Linked DNA regions of Homo sapiens: region 2 is linked to region 1. Evidence: promoter capture Hi-C in 16 types of primary human blood cells and fetal thymus (Javierre and others, 2016). All regions are on one chromosome and are shown on one strand. The core of a region is centred on a gene start or on the middle of the fragment in contact, and the rest is flanking DNA. Distances in the headings are between cores, read along the strand shown. Region 1 holds the start of IER3IP1 (immediate early response 3 interacting protein 1). Region 2 holds the start of SKA1 (spindle and kinetochore associated complex subunit 1).

The links. Contacts are between HindIII fragments. The CHiCAGO score rates a contact against its expected background, and 5 or more counts as called.
Region 2: the fragment with the promoter of SKA1 here is called in contact with the fragment with the promoter of IER3IP1 in region 1 in 3 of 17 cell types (naive CD8 T cells, total CD8 T cells and non-activated CD4 T cells); the score reaches 8.7 in naive CD8 T cells.

Annotation. Positions count from the first base shown.
Region 1 is chr18:47,174,781-47,177,616 of GRCh38, forward strand. It overlaps IER3IP1 (immediate early response 3 interacting protein 1), which reads right to left and starts at 1,584. Exons shown (of 3, transcript NM_016097.5): 1 at 1,407-1,584. The coding sequence starts at 1,497. RefSeq lists enhancers at 1,493-1,612, 1,623-1,752. The HindIII fragment of the contact is 4,620 bases long and covers 155-2,836 here.
Region 2 is chr18:50,373,790-50,376,664 of GRCh38, forward strand. It overlaps SKA1 (spindle and kinetochore associated complex subunit 1), which reads left to right and starts at 1,257. Exons shown (of 7, transcript NM_145060.4): 1 at 1,257-1,405; 2 at 2,031-2,129. The coding sequence starts at 2,042. It overlaps LOC105372114 (a long non-coding RNA gene), which reads right to left and starts at 1,089. Exons shown (of 3, transcript XR_935466.3): 1 at 806-1,089. RefSeq lists a silencer at 1-44. The HindIII fragment of the contact is 8,258 bases long and covers 1-2,875 here.

The DNA of each region.
Region 1 (2,836 bases), core at 334-2,833:
CTTAAGACCCTCTTCTCACCTGCCTCAGTTTTCACACCAGGTCTACACTGCTTAAAGCTCTCCTCACCCTTCCAGCTCCTCCCAACCCTTCACCTTCACCGAGTTAATGTTTACTCATGTATCAGATTTCAGGTTAGACACGCTTCCTCCAAGAAGCTTTCGCAGATACACAAGTTAGTATCTGCCCGTACTTCTCTTACATAATACTCTCTATACTTGTTATTGTCATTTGTTTAGTTTTTATTTAGATTAACTTCCATCAGAAGGGCAGAGTAGCTGCTGTAACTTCAGTTACTATAAATGGGCCTGGCACATACTTTGCACTCAATAAATATCTTCTGAAGTAAATGAAATGAATCAATCTTGCTCCTGGGTTTACGTTTCAGTGATTCAAACGGGCATACTTGGTACACAACGTGAGGTCCTGGAAGGTATAACTTGTGTTTTCATTTTTGAATTTCTAAATTCTAGCAGAGTTTTTGGCACACTCTATGCACCCAATAAGCTATCTGAATAAACTTTTCTTGGAACATGAGTGTCTGAATGTCCTGATAACTCCAACACGTTCCCTTCCTGTAATTCCTAAAGCCCAGGAACACTTATTGCCTTCCATCAGTTAGTGAACTACTGATGCTCCAAAATGGGTCACGCCTCCTTCCCCTCCACACCCAACTCGTTTTGTTTTGTTTGTTTTGTTTTGTTAGACGGAGTCTCACTCTATTGCCCAGGCTGGAGTGCAATGGCGCAATCTCGGCTCACTGCAACCTCTGCCTCCCAGGTTTAAGTGATTCTCCTGCCTCAGCCTCCCGCCCGGCTAATTTTTGTATTTCCACCACCACGTCCGGCTAATCTTTGTATTTTTAGTAGAGACGGGGTTTTACCATGTTGGCCAGGCTGGTCCCAAACTCCTGACATCATGATCCGCCGGCCTCGGCCTGCCAAAGTGCTGGGATTACAGGCGGGAGCCACCGCGCCCGGCCCCACACCCCCAACTCTTAGCCCGAAACTCAGACCCCGGGTTTTCGACTATTAAAAGTAGTCACAGGACCGCGACACTGCACTTCAGCCTGGGCAAAAGAGCGAGACTCCCCCTCAAAAAAAAAAGTAGTCACAGAAAACTGAATTAAATTACTGACCTGAAGTAATCGCAAGCAGAGGCGTCCCTGACTGACTTCTATATCCCTCCACCCCAACCCCCTGGGCCCTGCACAGCGGGTGTCTGTTGAATATTCTCCCGGCTGTTGAGCCCAAACCTGATGAGAGGAAAGGCTCGGCTTCCACTCCAAGCCGAGCCTTCCGCTGTTCTTCTGTCCCGGCCCTTGGTGTCCCCTCACGCGGCCCCATTAGGTTACGCGCCCCCGGGGACTCCGCCGCCGCCCCAGCCCGCGCCCCGCGGTCCCACTCACTGTTCTTGAGGAATCGCTCCTCGTGCAGCACTGCGATGGCGTTGACGCAGAGCAGGGCTGCCTGCAGCAGTGAGTACAGGGTAAAGGCCATGGCCGTCCGAGGCCGCCCCGAAGTCCAAGCGATTTCTCTCCCGCCGCCGCAAGGGACGTGGCGCCTCCACGGCCGGCGCCTTCCTACGGAAGCCGATGGGGCCCAAAACGAACTCTCCGGGAAGCCCCGCCTCCATCTGGCTAAGAACCGCCCCTCGCTGAAGACTGCAAGTCCTGCCGCTTGTCTAGACCGGTGATGTGCAATCAATGCTCTGATGTGGCCAGTGCTGCAGGTGCAAAATACACACCGGATTTCACACACTTGGAACTGGAACAAGGATGAAGAATATCCCAATAATTTTTTTTTTTTTGAGATGGAGTCTGGCCCTGTCGCCCAAACTGGAGTGCAGTGGCACGATCTCGGCTCACTGCAAGCTCCGACTCCCGGGTTCACGCCATTCTCCTGCCTCAGCCTCCCAAGTAGCTGGGACTACAGGTGCCCGCCACCACGCCCGGCTAATTTTTTGTATTTTTAGTAGAGACGGGGTTTCACCGTGTTAGCCAGGATGGTCTCAATCTCCTGACCTCGTGATTCCCCCCTCCTCGGCCTCCCAATAATTTTTAAATGTTGATAACATGTTGAAATGAAAATATTTTGAGGCCGGGCGCAGTGGCTCACGCCTGTAATTCTAGCACTTTGGGAAACCGAGGCGGGCAAATCACCTAAGGTCAAGAGTTCGAGACCAGTCTGGCCAACATGGCAAAACCCTGTCTCTACTGAAAATACAAAAATTAGCTGGGTGTGATGGTGGGCTCCTGTAATCCCAGCTACTCAGGAGGCTGAGAGAAGAGAATCACTTGAACCCGGGAGGCAGAGACTGCAGTGAGCCGAGATCCAGCCTGGGTGACAGAGCAAGAGGAAAGAAGGAAGGAAGGGAGGAAGGTTTCTTGTTTATTTTTAATTATTTTATTTAATGTGGTTATGAAGATACTGTAAATGACATGTGACGCTTGCATTATATTTCTATTGCTCAGTACTGCACTTGATGCTCCCAGGAGATACAGGAGATACTAATATTCCCATTTCAGATTTCAGAATGCTAAAACAAAATAACTGTTTTAAAATTACTCAGTGAGAAACATCCCCTCCTTGACCAAACTCCAACCAAGATCCTCTGAGCCTCTTCTTTTTTTTTTTCCCCCCCCAGGAACAGGGTCTTGCTCTGTTGCCCAGGCTGGAGTGCAGTGGCACCATCATAGCTCAATGCAGCCTTCAGCTCCTGGCTCGAGCAGTCCTCCTGCCTTAGCCTCCTGCTTAGCTGTATGTGATGGTTAAGACTGAGTGTCAACTTGATTGGATTGAAGGATGCAAAGTATTGATCCTGGGTGTGTCTGTGAGG
Region 2 (2,875 bases), core at 7-2,506, 3.2 Mb after region 1:
GGCTGGCAGCCTGAAGGTCCAAGTGCATAATAATAGCGCAGTGGAGCCAAGGGATGGACAGAACCTGGCGGTGCCACCACTCCAGCCTTGGGTGCTTTTCCCTCCTTTTCAACAGGGAGAATTAAACTTTTGTTTTTCTTATTTTAAATTTATATTTGCTCTTAAGTGGCAGGCCAGGTCTCACTAACAGCTGAACAGACAGGCCTCCGTAACCACTGTTTCAGCACTAGTTAAGTTAAATATTAAAAGCTGAAAGAGCCAGTGTCTTTATAGAAAGGCTGGTATGTAACAAAAGCCCACCAAGAGTTTTGCCCAGGCCTTTCCTGGTCCTTGAAGCATGAGAAAATAAAGAAGGAATTCTTAACAGGACCTGTTCAAGATTAAACAAGTTTTTATTGGGGGTCTGAAGAAACTCCCCCAGACCTCCACAAACAAGTTTATCGGGGGTCTGAAGGAACTGCCCAAACCTTCATGATTTAGCAGGAGACAAGATAAGGGTAATCACCTCTGGCACCTGCAGCCATCTAGATTAAGTAAATTTACTTAAATAAAGACCTTCCTTAGGACTGATCTTAGTTATAGATTAGAAACAGTTAATCATTTACGTCTTTACACACATGCACACTTACATGTAGACAGATAGTTTAGAAGGTATATAAGCTCTGGAAAACTTTGTAATTTTGAATCGATTTGGCGATATTTTCCAGGCCTTTTCCCTGTACCCGGTTACCGAAATAAACTCTTCTTTCCCAGTTCATCATGAGAATAAGCAGCCCAACCCCTGGTTTGGCCCGGGAACACTTACAGAGGCTGTCTAAGACCCAGAAGACAGGGTCACTGTTTCTTCCACACAAACTTAGCTGCTCTTTGGAATTTTCTGGGGTGTTTTTATAAATACTAAGGCTTGTGCCTCATTTCCCCAGTGTCTGATTTCACCGACTTGGGGTGTACTCTAGGCACTGAGACTTGTAATAGCTGCCCCTGGTGACTCTAAGGTGCAGCAAATGTCAAAGACCAGGACTTGGTGACGCCAGGTCCCTGGCTGGGCTGCGGTCAAGACTGCATGACCTGCTGAAATCTCCCCAGACTGGTTAGCGCGGAAAGAGCACCTCCGGGTTACCCTTTCGTCCGGAAGCCCCGCCTTCGCCGTCGCCCCGCCTTTCCCCGGCTCGGCCACCCCTCCTTCCCGCCCAGCTGTGGCCCCGGATGACGCAAACCGGGAACAGCGGCTGAGCCTGCGCTTCGGAAGCATGGATGTGCGCCTGCGCTGCGCTAGGGCGCGGCGGGCGGTTTGAATTTTGCTTACAGAGTCCCGTCTCACCATCCTGGGCTTCCAACGGAGACTGCGGTATCCGCAGCTGGAGACCCAGCGGCGAGTAGCCTTTTGCTCCCGGACGGACTTGAGGTTGGAGTCTGTGTGTTGGGGACCCTGCCTTTGGAAGCGCCCGAGGTAGCTGCTTGGCAGCTGGGGGCCGCGGACCGCGCCGGGCTTGGGGGAGGACGGGGCTGGAGGCTGGGTTGGATGCTTTAGACCCTCCCCTTCTCTCTCACCGGCGGAGTGGGTGGGAAACTGGTTCTTTCCCATTTCTCGGCCTCCTTACCGATCCCAAACTGTAAAGCCCCAACCCCTCACAGCACAGGAAAAATGATTACCTGGGCCCATTTCTTTGACAGTGTAACACATTTTTAAAAAATGTGTCCTTATTTTGCGTGTTTAAAGAAAATACCAATGTTGTCTTTATATACAAATAGTGCGTTTGTCCTCCTGAATCCTTAAGGAAAGGACCCAGGCTTATCCTCTTTCCCCTGGTTTGGGATCCATCGATGGCCTAAGGCTCTAAGACAAGTCAGTACGGTACCGTGGTTAGAAACTGAATGTTGTAGAAATGAAAGAAATTGCTCTTGAATTTTTGTGCTTAACCTTCAAAGACATGTGATTTACTTGACATTGACCATTCTTGGATTTCGAAAGTGAACAGAAATTTGTGTGGCTTTTCTTGTTACGAATATGTTTATGTTTTTTTCTTCAGAGGCTTAAAGGATGGCCTCGTCAGATCTGGAACAATTATGCTCTCATGTTAATGAAAAGATTGGCAATATTAAGAAAACCTTATCATTAAGAAACTGTGGTAAGTAAAACAGATTCCACTGACTTTGTATATACAAAATGCATTTTGATTATTCCACTCTGAATGATATCTTTGCTTGGTTAAGTGACTGCATCTTAGGTAATTTTAGATTTTTGCATAACGATTTTTTAAATAGTCCAATGTCATTTTGAATATTGTGGAGGATACTAAAAATGTAAGGTACATTGAACAATGAACTGAATATTCATTAGAATTATTTACTTATGTTTTTCTGAGACACATAGGCCAATGGTGAGATTTGAAGGTTATGTGGCATCCATGGTTCTACAGCTAAATAGAGATACAGTCATGCGTTCCTTAATGATGGAGATGTGTTCTGACAAAAGCGTTACATGATTTTGTCGTTGTGCAAACATCACATCATAGAATGTACGTAAATGTACACAAACCTAGATGGTATAGCCTACTACATATCTAGGCTATATAGCCTATTGCTCCTAGGCAACAAACCCGTATAGCATGTGACTGTACTGAATACCTTAGGCAAGTGTAACACAATGGTGAGTATTTGTGTATCTAAACATAGAAAAGATACAGTAAAAGATTAAAAATGGAACACCTGTATAGGCCACTTACCATTGATGGAGCTTGCAGAACTGGAAGTTGCTGTGGGTGAGACAGTGACTGTGAGGGCCTAGGACATCACTGTATACTACTGTAGGCTTTATAAGTACTATACACTTATGCTACACTAAATTTATAAAAAATGAAAAACTTTCTTCAAT